Regions from separate parts of the Homo sapiens genome. Here region 2 is linked to region 1. The links are contacts of gene promoters, found by promoter capture Hi-C in blood cells and fetal thymus (Javierre and others, 2016). All regions are on one chromosome and are shown on one strand. The core of a region is centred on a gene start or on the middle of the fragment in contact, and the rest is flanking DNA. Distances in the headings are between cores, read along the strand shown. Region 1 holds the start of LIPE (lipase E, hormone sensitive type). Region 2 has its middle 20 kb from the start of POU2F2-AS2.

What was found. Contacts are between HindIII fragments. The CHiCAGO score rates a contact against its expected background, and 5 or more counts as called.
Region 2: a contact is called between a fragment that was not itself captured here and the fragment with the promoter of LIPE in region 1, in 1 of 17 cell types (neutrophils). The highest score is 6.5, in neutrophils.

What each region holds. Positions count from the first base shown.
Region 1 is chr19:42,424,359-42,430,758 of GRCh38, reverse strand. LIPE (lipase E, hormone sensitive type) reads left to right here and starts at 3,371. Exons shown (of 10, transcript NM_005357.4): 1 at 3,371-4,492. The coding sequence starts at 3,610. CXCL17 (C-X-C motif chemokine ligand 17) reads left to right here. Exons shown (of 4, transcript NM_198477.3): 4 at 1,778-2,481. The coding sequence ends at 1,875. All of the region lies in intron 1 of LIPE-AS1 (LIPE antisense RNA 1), which reads right to left. The HindIII fragment of the contact is 12,356 bases long and covers 1,859-6,400 here.
Region 2 is chr19:42,169,306-42,175,705 of GRCh38, reverse strand. It overlaps a transcript of POU2F2 not described here. Among named protein-coding and RNA genes, the nearest start is that of POU2F2-AS2, 20 kb to the right of the region's middle. The HindIII fragment of the contact is 3,530 bases long and covers 1,699-5,228 here.

The sequences.
Region 1 (6,400 bases), core at 2,122-4,621:
GGAATCTATACACATAGGTGGTAAATAATAAAGAAAAGAAAGTAAATAATTACTATAAAAGTCAAGATTATCACTGTGAGGGGGAGAGAAAGCAGTGATCAGAAAAGGAGGGGTGCTGTTGGCAATATTCTATTTCTTTCTTTCTTTCTTTTTTTTTTTTTTTTGAGATGGAGTTCTGCTCTTGTTGCCCAGGCTGGAGTGCAATAGCGCAATCTCGGCTCACTGCAACCTCCGCCTCCCGGGTTGAAGCAATTCTCCTGCCTCAGCCTCCTGAGGAGCTGGGATTACAGGGATGCGCCACCACACCCAGCTAATTTTGTATTTTTAGTAGAGATGGATTTCTCCATGTTGGTCAGGCTGGTCTCGAACCCCTGACCTCAGGTGATCTGCCTGCCTCGGGCTCCCAAAGTGCAGGGATTACAGGCATGAGCCACCGTGCCCGGACACAATATTCTATTTCTAAGCCTAGGTAGTAGTTTCATGAATATCTGCTTTATAACTATTTATTGAATTGCATGTATAGGTTTCTATGAACTTCTATAGATATATAATACTTTGCAATAATAGATTCAGTTGTTTTTTTTGCAGAGGGAGGGGCGCAGTTGAGACAAGGTCTTGCTCTGTCACCCAGGCTGGAGTGCAGTGGCATGATCACGGCTCACCTCCTGGGCTGAAACATTCCTCCTGCCTCAGCCTCCCCAGCAACTGGAACCACAGGTACACGCCACCATGCCTGGCTAATTTTTGTATTTTTGTAGAGATAGGATTTCGCCATGTTGCTCAGGCTGGTCTTTAACTCCTGGGCTCAGGCAATCTGCCCACCTCGGCCTCCCAAAGTGCTGAGATTATAGGCACAAGCCACTATGCCCGGCCAGATTTCTTAAAGGTGCCGACTAAGGCAATACGTATAGTATAATCTCATTTTTGTTTTTAAAATAAACCATTGTATTTATATACCAGAAGGTATGGAAAAATACGTAGCAAACTATTAACAGTGGTTAGCCCTGGAAAATGTGTTGTAGAGGCTGGGGTGGGAGGAGTCCTTTTACTTTTTACTGGATTTTAAAATTTTTTTCCACTGGATGAGTCTTATTTTTATAATTTTTAAAACTCTCATAAAAATTAAATGTTGGCTGGGCACAGTGGCTCACACCTGTAATCCTAGCATTTTGGGAGGCAAAAGCGGGTGGATCACCTGAGGTCAGGAGTTCAAGACCAGCCTGGCCAACATGGTGAAACCCCATCTCTACTAAAATACAAAAATTAGCCAGGCATGATGGTGGGTGCCTGTAATCCCAGCTACTCGAGAGGCTGAGACAGGAGAATCGCTTGAATCTGGGAGACAGTGGTTGCAGTGAGCCAAGATTGCACCACTGCACTCCAGCCTGGGCAACTGAACGAGACTCCATCTCAAAAAAAAATTAAATGTGAAGGCCAGGCATGGTGGCTCATGCCTGTAATCCTAGCACTTTGGGAGGCCGAGGTGGGTGGATCACATGACGTCAGGAGTTCCAGACCAGCCTGGCCAAAATGGTGAAACCCTGTCTCTACTAAAATACAAAAATTAGCCAGCCATGGTGGCAGGCACCTGTAATCCCAGCTACTTGGGAGGCTGAGGCAGGAGAATCACTTGAACCCGGGAGGCAGAGGTTGCAGTGAGTTGAGATCCTGCCACTGCACTCCAGCCTGGGCAATAGAGCAAGACTCCGTCTCCAAAAAAAAAAGAAATGTTAAAAATGGTTTTAACACTAGCCTCTCCCCTTTATTTGCACCCTAGGACACCAAAGGCACCACAGAAAGCCAAACAAGCATTCCAGAGCCTGCCAGCAATTTCTCAAACAATGTCAGCTAAGAAGCTTTGCTCTGCCTTTGTAGGAGCTCTGAGCGCCCACTCTTCCAATTAAACATTCTCAGCCAAGAAGACAGTGAGCACACCTACCAGACACTCTTCTTCTCCCACCTCACTCTCCCACTGTACCCACCCCTAAATCATTCCAGTGCTCTCAAAAAGCATGTTTTTCAAGATCATTTTGTTTGTTGCTCTCTCTAGTGTCTTCTTCTCTCGTCAGTCTTAGCCTGTGCCCTCCCCTTACCCAGGCTTAGGCTTAATTACCTGAAAGATTCCAGGAAACTGTAGCTTCCTAGCTAGTGTCATTTAACCTTAAATGCAATCAGGAAAGTAGCAAACAGAAGTCAATAAATATTTTTAAATGTCACAGATCAAAATTGTTTCCTTCAAATGGGGTCTGCCAATTCACAACCAGATGACCCATTTTACCCTATTCACTGCAGACTGAATCCAGATTCTACACATACTTATCCCCACCAAGACCCTCACTCTGTCTCCATTGGCCTACTTGTTCATCTTTCACTCATTCGACAAATCTTTCTGAGGTAAGAGCGAGGTGGGACAAAAAAAAAAAAGCATACCAATGAACCAGACACGGTCTTATTAAAGATAATATAGGTTTAAAAAAAAAACTTGGCACAGTTTCTTAGCACTTAGGCAGCCTTTGGTATTTATGACTACTATCATCACCATTACCACCATCATTATCAGTCATTGTCATCAGTGGTCACTGTCTTCTGTGAGTTTCCAATCTAGTACAGGATCATAGTTCAGGGCTAGAGAGATGGCATGGAGTATCTCAAATGCCATTCAGAAGGGCCTCAAGCTATAAAAGTGGGAAGGCATGACATTAGTTTTTAACATGAGAGTTAAATGATCAGAATGACAATATAAGGAAATTAAACTAGCAACCTGGCTGGGCGTGGTGGCTCACACCTGTAAACCCAGCACTTTGGGAGGCCCGGGGGCGGGGGGTGGGGGTGGATCACTTAAGGTCAGGAGTTTGAGACCAGCCTGGCCAACATGGCAAAACCCCATCTCTACTAAAAATATAAAAATTAGCCGGGCGTGGCAGTGCACGCCTGTAGTCCCAGCTACTTGGGAGGCTGAGGCAGGAGAGTCGCTTGAACCCAGGAGGTGGAGGCTTCAGTGAGCCAAAATGGTACCACTGCACTCCAGCCTGGGCAACAGAGAAAGACTTGTCTCAATAAGTAAATAAATAAATAATCTGGCAACCATTTGTAGGAATGAACAAAGAGGGAAATAATTATTACAACAACTACAGAGACTGCCCCCTGAATGACGCTTTCCTCAGACATTAGAAGGAAAGAGAAAAAAGGAACACTCATCCAGCATCTGGCTTCTGTCATCCCAGATGACACGGAGGCCTAAATTGGGATGCTTGCCTTATGAGAAGAAACATTTTAACGGAGTGGTGGGTGGGGTGGGGCCCTATTTATGACACAAGAGAGCAAGCCCCTCCCTTCTTGTAAGAGAGTGCTAGGCACATAGCCTCCTCCTATTCCTAATCCTCCCACCAAAGAAAGAGGCACAGAGTTCATTACTTAGTGGGGGCCAGCTGTGATCGGCCAACTGCCAGCTGCCTTAAAAAGGAAGACCAGTGATGCTAGGATGGAGTGAAACCCAAGAGGAAGTGCCATCATGAGGAATCAATGAGAGATCTGTGAAGAGAGAGGGCTGGGTGGGAGCCCAGAAGGATAGAACCTGGAAGATCAATATCTCCCGTGAGGGAAATAACAATGGAGCCAGGTTCTAAGTCAGTGTCTAGGTCAGACTGGCAACCTGAACCACACCAGAGGCCTATAACCCCGCTAGAGCCTGGGCCAGAAAAGACACCCATAGCCCAGCCAGAATCGAAGACTCTGCAGGGATCCAATACCCAACAGAAGCCTGCTTCAAACCAAAGACCCCTCACCCAGCAGGAGACCCCTGCACAACATGATGCTGAATCCCAGAAGGAACCTAGAGCCCAACAAAAATCTGCTTCACAAGAGGAATTTCTTGCCCCACAGAAGCCCGCACCACAGCAATCACCTTACATCCAAAGGGTGCTGCTCACTCAACAGGAAGCTGCCTCCCAGCAGGGACCTGGGCTAGGAAAAGAATCTATAACTCAACAGGAGCCAGCATTGAGACAAAGACATGTAGCCCAGCCAGGGCCTGGGCCAGGAGAGCCACCTCCAGCTCAACAAGAAGCTGAATCAACACCTGCGGCCCAGGCTAAACCTGGAGCCAAAAGGGAGCCATCTGCCCCGACTGAATCTACGTCCCAAGAGACACCTGAACAGTCAGACAAGCAAACAACGCCAGTCCAGGGAGCCAAATCCAAGCAGGGATCTTTGACAGAGCTGGGATTTCTAACAAAACTTCAGGAACTATCCATACAGCGATCAGCCCTAGAGTGGAAGGCACTTTCTGAGTGGGTCACAGATTCTGAGTCAGAATCAGATGTGGGATCATCTTCAGACACAGATTCTCCAGCCACGATGGGTGGAATGGTGGCCCAGGGAGTGAAGCTAGGCTTCAAAGGAAAATCTGGTTATAAAGTGATGTCAGGATACAGTGGGACGTCGCCACATGAGAAAACCAGTGCTCGGAATCACAGACACTACCAGGATACAGGTGAGTGTGAATCTGGAGGAATTGAAGCCTCTCAGGGACAGTCATTCATTTACTTAAAAAATACTAAAAACTTACGGTGTATCAGGTTAGCTCTGGTCATCCTTCAACAATCCTGAGATAAAGATCAACATCCCCATTATTAAAAAAAAAAAAAAAAAAAAAAAAGGCTGGGCGCAGTGGCTCACACCTGTAATCCCAGCACTTTGGGAGGCCGAGGCAGATGGATTGCTTGAGGCCAGGAGTTCAAGACCAGCCTAGCCAAGATGGTGAAACACCGTCTCTACTAAAAATACAAAAATTAGCCAGGCGTGGTGGCAGGTGCCTGTAATCCCAGCTACTCGGGAGGCTGAGGCAGAGAAACACTTGAACCCGGGAGGCAAAGGTTGCAATGAGCTGAGATCGTGCCACTGCACTCCAGCCTGGGTGACAGAGTAAGACTCCATCTCAAAAAAAGAAAAAAACAAAGTCTCACTCTGTCGCCCAGGCTGGGGTGCACTGGTATGATCATGGCTCACTGCAGCCTCAAACTCCTGGGCTCAAGCGATCCTCATACCTCAGCCTCCGGAGTAGGTGGGACTACAAGTGCACCACCATGCCCCGCTAATTTTTACATTTTCCGTAGAGACGTGGCCTCGCTATGTTGCCCAGGCTGGTCTCGAACTCCTGGCCCCAAGCAAGCCTCCCACCTCAGCTTCCCAAAGTGCTGAGATTACAGGCATGAGCCACCGAGCACCTGGCCAACATCCTCATTTTAGAAATGAGGACATCAGGTAGAAAATAAAGAAGTAAGGGTTCTTGCACAGGGCCATGCAGTTAGGAAGTGGCAAAGTCAGGATTTGAAGCCGGGGTCTTTCTCCCCTGGACCAGGCTGCCTCCCTATAGAGGATTTGGGGAAAATCAAATCCCAGAGTGGGAAGGCACTCTGAGCTAGGGACCAGGAGACCAGGAAAGCGGCCCTCTTGCCAGTGTTCATTCATCCATCCACAGAAACTGACTGAGCACCAGCTCTGGGGTAGACACGGGCGTAAGTCCCAGCAATACAATACAAAGACGGTACCTTACCCTTCTGGAGTTTCCAGGCAGGCTAGGCAGAACATTGGGGCATCAACAGTCTCTCAGTTTACCAGGTCTGTCCTCTTCTGCCAGGAAGATACCTGCTCCCTGCCAGGCTGCCTCCATAGGGGACTCAGTCCAGCCAGGCGGAAGGGCCTTGCGGGTTGTGTTCTCAGCAAGGAGGAGCCGGGAGAGAGGTGCGGGAGCCGCCAAGGTCTCAGGCAAGGTCAGGGACTGACGGCAGGAAAGTTGGGGGAGCAGCATCAGAGGATAACGGGCCCAAGGCTCTGGGCTCACCGCAGGCACTCCCTCGCCTTCTCCGCCTCTTCCCGGGGCCCAGTGCTGCCCCCTGCCTGCTTCACAGGAGCCCCAGGAAGCTCCGATCTTCCTTCTCTAGGCTCAAAACCCCTGCCATGGAGAAGGGGGGAATACAAGTTTTATCTATGGAACTGGAGGTTACTTGTTGAAGTCCCCTGATGTGGGGGGAAAAACCAACGCAGCCCTAATCCTGAAGCTGAGGGTATCTGTGAGGCCCTGGTCCAGAGGGCAGGCAATGGCGGCCCCTCCGCCCAGAGGCCAGTCTGTCTTGTCTCTCCCACAGCTGATAAGAGAGTAACGCGTTTCTCAGCGCCGGGGCTGCTGGGTATGCTTTGAGAGGGAAGGAAGAGGGGCGGCAGGCAAAGGCAGGGATTGAGGCCTGCTCTCCCCAGTGCTGAGGATAGAAAGCTGTTTCTCCAGGCCTCCAGAGCACAGTCTCAAGGGATGCCCGCCCCACACCACCGCGGCGGGCGAGGTTGCCTTTCAGGCGGTCCAGAAGCAGTTGGCTGTGTGCGTGTGAGCAAGGCGGTCCAGAAG
Region 2 (6,400 bases), core at 2,214-4,713, 260 kb after region 1:
CCTGCTGCCTCTTTGGTCTCTTTTCTTTCCCTTTTCATGTCCTTTCTCAGCTCCTTTATTTCCATCTCCTTTACTGTTTTTTCTTTCTCACTGTTTTTCAGTTTCTATCTCTTCCTTTTCTCAATAAAAGCTCTTTCTCCTCCTCCCCACCCCTTAGTTTTTCTTTTTCTACCTCCCTTATCTCCACCTCCTTCCCTTCTTTTTTCTCCGTTTTTCCCTTCCCCCTTTCCCCCTTTCTTTTATTCTTCCCTTCCTGCCACTCATTTCCCCTGTTGCCAGCTCTTTCTACCCCCTCCCTCAGTTTCATTTATTCATCACTCTTGCTGCTCTGGCCTTCAACAGGGTGCCAGGGAAAGGGGCTCCATGCAAAGGCAGGAATCCCCAACTTCCTACCAGAGCCTAACCCCTGTTCTGAAACCCCATGTATTTCTACCCTCTTTTTTACCCTGAGTGGGGGTTTGGGTCTGTCCCCTGGGTTCTAGTGCCACCCCCTACTTCCTTGTGGCCTCCTGGAGAAGTCCTGCTGGATGCTCACTGGGGCTCTGGGAGGGGGAGGGGAAGATCTTAAGTGAGGGCTCATGGCTGTCGACTCAGCCCCACTGAGAAGGGTGTGGACAGAGAAGAAAATGACATGGATGCCTAGCGGGAAGTGAAAACGGGAGGAAATTGGGGCGGAAGTCCATCTGAGAGAGTCCTTAGAGCTTTTGAGTCCAGGTAAAAGATCCTGAGAGAAAGCCTTTGGCCTGATGACCACTCCCCACTTTCTGCCTCCTTCCTGGGGCCTGTGGAGTTGGGGAGTAGGTCCTGGATTTAGAGAAAGACCCAATCAGCCGCTTCGCTCAGTAGCTTTTAGTCTCTTGCCATCTTGTCAGGTGGATTTGTCCTTCCACCCCCCAGGATATAAGGGGAAGGTACAGAGTCAGTGTGCAGTGGGGGGCTGGTGGGTACAGAGTCAGTGTGCAGTGGGGGGCTGGTGGGTACAGAGTCAGACCATGACGGCAGCATGCATGTGTATAAGGCCTGCATGTGTGGTGAGATGTGTTCAGGAAGGACTAACTGTGTGTGCTGGGCCTCGAAGCCTTGGCAGAGTGAGGAGCCAAAGGTGTAGAATCGTGACATGTGTTTTCAGTGGGGGGTTGGGTACTGGGGGTCCCCATCATGGGTGACATATGTGCAGAAGGGAGTCAGTGCATATTTGTACTGATCTCTCCCTCGTCCTGATGTTTATGTATCACTCGCTATGTGTGCATTCAGGAGGCCCTCTTTGGCTCTGTGCGTGGAAGCCGTCCACGCGTGTGCAGGCCCATGTGCCGAGTCTGGCTTCAGCAGTGGACACGTGACACTTTGTATGTGCAGCGTGTTTGGAGTGAAGGCTCTGTGTATGGGTACTAGGTCTGAACATAGTGTGTGCACACAAGGGTGCACATCAAAAAAAGTCACATATGTGAAAGTACCATTTCTGCATGGAGATATTATTATTGTTATTGCTCGGGGTCTCTGCGTGTCCTGGGTAAGAGGGAGGGTGGGTTTGTGAAGCAGGGTCTGGGTAGAGTGATGAGAGATGTGTGAGTGCACAGAGGTCGCGGGCGTATGGCTGAGTTTGACGGCATGCTTGCACAGCAGCCTTGAAGCTGGGTTCAAGAAAACAAAACAAGAAAAGATCCCCTCTCCCCACAGTCTATCAGCCCATGAAAAGCTTCCCTGGACCTTCTGTAGTAACAAAGCGTCCCATGTCAGGGGGTGACAGGCAGGCCAGGAGTAAAGCCGATCAGGGCCATAGGCAGCATCTCCAGTTGCTGATAATGCGATTCCACATCTACTTCCTGATTTATGGGTAATGCTGGACAGAGGCCCATCCTTGCCGTTGGAGAGGTCCAGACCCCCATTTCCCTGAGGCTGTGCTGGCATGTGCTGGTGAACTCTGTGGCAGGTTGCAGTGTCATCTTTGGGGGTCTTGGTTGCGCTCACTTCCCTCTGCTAGTCTTTGCAGGGAAAATGGAAGGTGTCTGTGTCAGGGCTGTAGTAGGGAAAGAACTCAGCCACAGTGTGTGTGTATGCACACACCTATACCCATGCTGTGTGTGTAGAGGTTGTTAGCCTATACGTCCTAGACAGCATGCTGGCCAGGTGTTTTTTTTTTTTTTTTCTAGCAAGTCCGTCAGTGGCCACTCCAGGCCACCTCCATTCTGGTTCATATACACTCCCTTCTTGTATGCAGGGCCTATAAGCCAGAACTTCTTCCTCCACCAATGTGACAGCAAAGCAAGGGCCCCAACCTTAGCACCCCACTGGGTAGAGCTTTTCATAGCCCTGGTGCATAATCATAATGTGTAGAGGCATGACTTGCAACGAGGGGAGCAGGGACAGATGGCCACACCAGGGGCTACTTGGACATCGATGATGGCAAGGGAGAAGTTTCCATCTCTGGCATGTGCTGGTTAATTTCCAAGATATTTCAGGATGGAGATGGTTGAGAAACCCAAGTGTGAAGAGTTGTTAGAAGACAGAGTGGGTGTAAGGCCTCCTCAGATGGATGTCTATTCCTCCTTCTAAATATATTTCACTCATCATTTTTCCCTTGGGCTCAACACCTCTTGATCTAATAATAATAATGACCATGATGTCCCTTACACCCACCTCGCTCTCACAGCAGCCCCAGTGGTGTCCCTCTCACAGATGAGAATTCTGAGGCCCACATCATTTGCTCAGCCTGTCAGCAACCATGCTGGCGCTAGAACCAAGGTCCTCCTCATACCGAGCCTTGTCTGTCCTTATAGGTCTGTCCTATCCCATTAGCTGTCCCAGCGCCATTTCCTTTCACTGGCTCTGTCTCTTCCCCCACTTCCTCCCTGCCCCCTGAGATGTCCATCCACAGACCTGTCTCCCAGGACCTGTCGGGTGGATGGATGCCTTATGTGGTTCAGTGAGGGCTCTAAGGATGTGGGTCTCGCTTTATATCCTGAAGGGAGAGCCAGCAAATGAGCATGGTTGAGCTCGTTCCATCAGTGATGGTTTGGGGCTGGGCCTGTTCAAACACAGGGGTTTGCATGAGCTTATGGTCCCCCCTACCCCTTTTGGTGAGCCCTGTGTCACCTTTTCAGATCCACATGGTGGCCTTGGGAGGCAGGTGCATTTTCCCTCACTCGATCACCACCCCAACTTCATTAGATCCTCGGGACAGGCAGCTTTCCCAGCTCTGACGCATTCGGAAGGAGGCTGAAGGTGGTGGCTCCACATGCAAGGTCCCTGCATTCAATAGGTATTTATTGAGTGGTGTGAATCACTGAACAAATAAAGTCCAGTGAGTTCCCTGAGGTAATCGGGCAATGGTGGTATGATCACTCCTTAACCTGAAAATGATCGCTAGGCACTGACCATGGGCCAACAAAGGCCTAGACTCTGAAGCAGAACCAATCCCAGCCTTAGACAGGATTCTGGGCGCCTGGACTGTGAGCACAAAGGGAGTTTCCAGGTCATTAGGAATCTGGGGAATGAAGATGGTGTGGGTTTAGACAGGGAGGTGAGTCTTTAAGGATGCTCAGATACTGAGAAAAGCAGACTGGTGGCAGGGCATAAAGATGGCAGAGGAAAGTGAGGAGAAAGCAGCCCAGGTTGGAGGTGTAGTCTAAGAGTAGAGGTTGGCACAATGTTGCAAGGCCCTGTCTGTGGAGGCTCAGCTGCTGCTCTGAGAAGTTGGAACTTGATCTGGCTGGCAGCGGGGAGCTATTATGCCTGCAATCACACACACATACACATATACACATGCATCTCGTGACAACGTACTTTGGACAATACGGACTTGTCTATGAGCATGAGTGTGCTTGTGCACACACACACAGGGACCTTTATTCTGGCATCCATTCAGGGTCTCCCTCACAGAAACCAACAAGGTTGGGGGTTACTTTAGTCCACACTCTCAGGATCCTATAAAGTATAGGGCTGTGGCCCACACACGCAAGTATAAGAGCAGACTGGGGACCCTCCCCCACCCGGGGTGCAGACTCATGTGGCATTCACAGACTTAATCCGCCGCAGTGAGGCCAGGGAGGCAGCATCTGTCACTTTCACAAACACAAGCAACGGAGTCTGAGAGAGGCACATTCCACTTGCTCACAACTGCTTGAGAAACAGATGCCTGTACCGCACTGCCCCCCATGCCCAAAACAGACACGGCCCCTCATGGCCCCCCACGCCAAGCCCAGGCCAATACACCAAGTCACTCCTGCATTAAAGTGCACACACACACACACACACACACACACACACACACACACGAAGCGCAGCCCCTGACATTCCATCTCCCCATATATACAACCATATACTCAGGCACTCTGACTTTAAGCACAGCTGCTGACTTCCTATCCCCTTATTCACACACAGACACAGACACACACGCATACACACACACACTCATTTTGACTTAAAGCACAGCTATAGCCATCCCACCACCCATACACATATACCTACAAGCGGACTTCCACACATACTCAAACACACAGCCTCACAATCCACCAGAACTACTGTGGCCAGCGGTCATTGAAGAATGACAGCCTGAGCAGTGTGCTGAGGGGAGGGTCGCCCTGAGGCATGGGCCGAGGGTCATACAACAGGGTACATCGGAATCCCTTGAGGAAAAGGTCAGGCCGACTCCAAAAGGGTTCCATTGGTCCGGACGGTTCTGCCAGGTAAGGGAGATTCAACAAATGCAGGCCAGAGGCAGGAGCCGACTAATGGCCGAGGCCGCTGATGGCCGAGATGGCTGGTCAGCGAGGAGGGGAGGCTCGACAACTGATGTGACTCAGAGCTGGACAAATGATGGCGCATTTGGCTGAAGCTGGCTGGGGGCCCATGACCAGAGACCAGGCAGCCATTCTCGCCTCAGCGGGGAAAGGGCCAGATCCGGCTCTGTTGCAGCAGGGTGGGTTTCCCAGCCTGGATCCACCATGCATCCTGCCTGCCGTGTGTGTCTTGGGGTCTTTGTATGTGTGCATGTTTGTGTGCATGTGTGTTCATACATTTATCTGCAGTTGTCAGCATGTGCCTACCTTCGTAGAACTTTGTATCTTTGGGACTCCTGGTGTGCATCTATGTATGTGCCTTTGTGTATGTGTTTGCTTGTGCGTCTATGTGTACATGCCCACCCACAAAGTGTTCAGGGACCTTTCTTGTTGGACTCTGCATTTTTGGGTCCGTGTGTGTGTTTGCGTCTATTGAATGTGTAGAAAGCTTTCTTACTGTGAGACACTATGCACTCTTGAGCATTTTTTTTTTTTTTTTGGCGTTGGGTTGAAGGTTGGGGTGGGGAAGAAGCGATGGGTCTGGCTCTGCACTCTGAGCCTTCCATGTATCTGGTGGCCCATGAGGCCGTCTTTGTGCATCTGTTTGAGCCTCTGTCTAGGTGTCGGCGGGTGTGGGCTTGTGTGATTGCCTGTTTCAGAGTTTGAATATCTGTGTGTCCACAGCAGCATCTCCCTCGGAGCATGGATGTGGGTGGAGTGGGCCAGACCAGGATGAGGGGGGCATCTCCCTGAATCTCATCAGACCTCTGGAGGGGGGTCACACAACCCATGCTGAGCCTGGCTGGGACCCAGCAGCACAGCACAGTGCAGACCACCCCTCCTCCTCCTTTTCCCCCCATGACCTTTGAGCACAGCAGCCCCAAATACATATTTATCAGAGGGGCTGTGGGGACCAGCCCCTCCCCCACCACTCCCCTCAGGGCCCAGCCTGCCTGGCTGTGGAGAAATTAACCTTGTGACACAGGAGCTCGCTGACACCCCGGCCCCCTCCCCATCTGCAAGGCACATATGAGCAAGGGTGTGTGTGTGAGAGAGAGAGAGACAGAGAAAAGGTACTCATCCAGACTGGGAAGGCGCAGCAGCGAGGGGAAGAAAGACACACAGGTACACACGCACATGTGTTTATATCACCCCGACACACACACACACGCACACACACACGTGTGCGCGCACTCATTCGCCAAACTAGAGAGGCCACGTAAGTCTTGAACGGATGCACAAGGCAAATACTGAAATACATAAGCATGCAGACACATGCAATGATCCTGCAAGAGACATACACAGATTCTGAAACACATGGTAGCCATGTGCACCCTTGGGTCCTGGGAGCCAGATACCCATACTTTTGGTCAGAGATTCCCTAAGAAAATTCATAGATGCTAAACCCTGCAGATGCACATAGACGTTTGTATATTTGTCCACAGAGATGCCAAAATGGACACACCAGGTTTGGAAACAGGGGTAAACACATACTCAGACACAGGTATGAAAACCCAGATGTCTGTGCAGGCACATAGGTGCTGAGACCTCTCAGGGCAAGACAGACACCAAAACACCAGGGTGCTCCTCGTGTGGAGATTTGTTTTTCAATAGAAAATGTA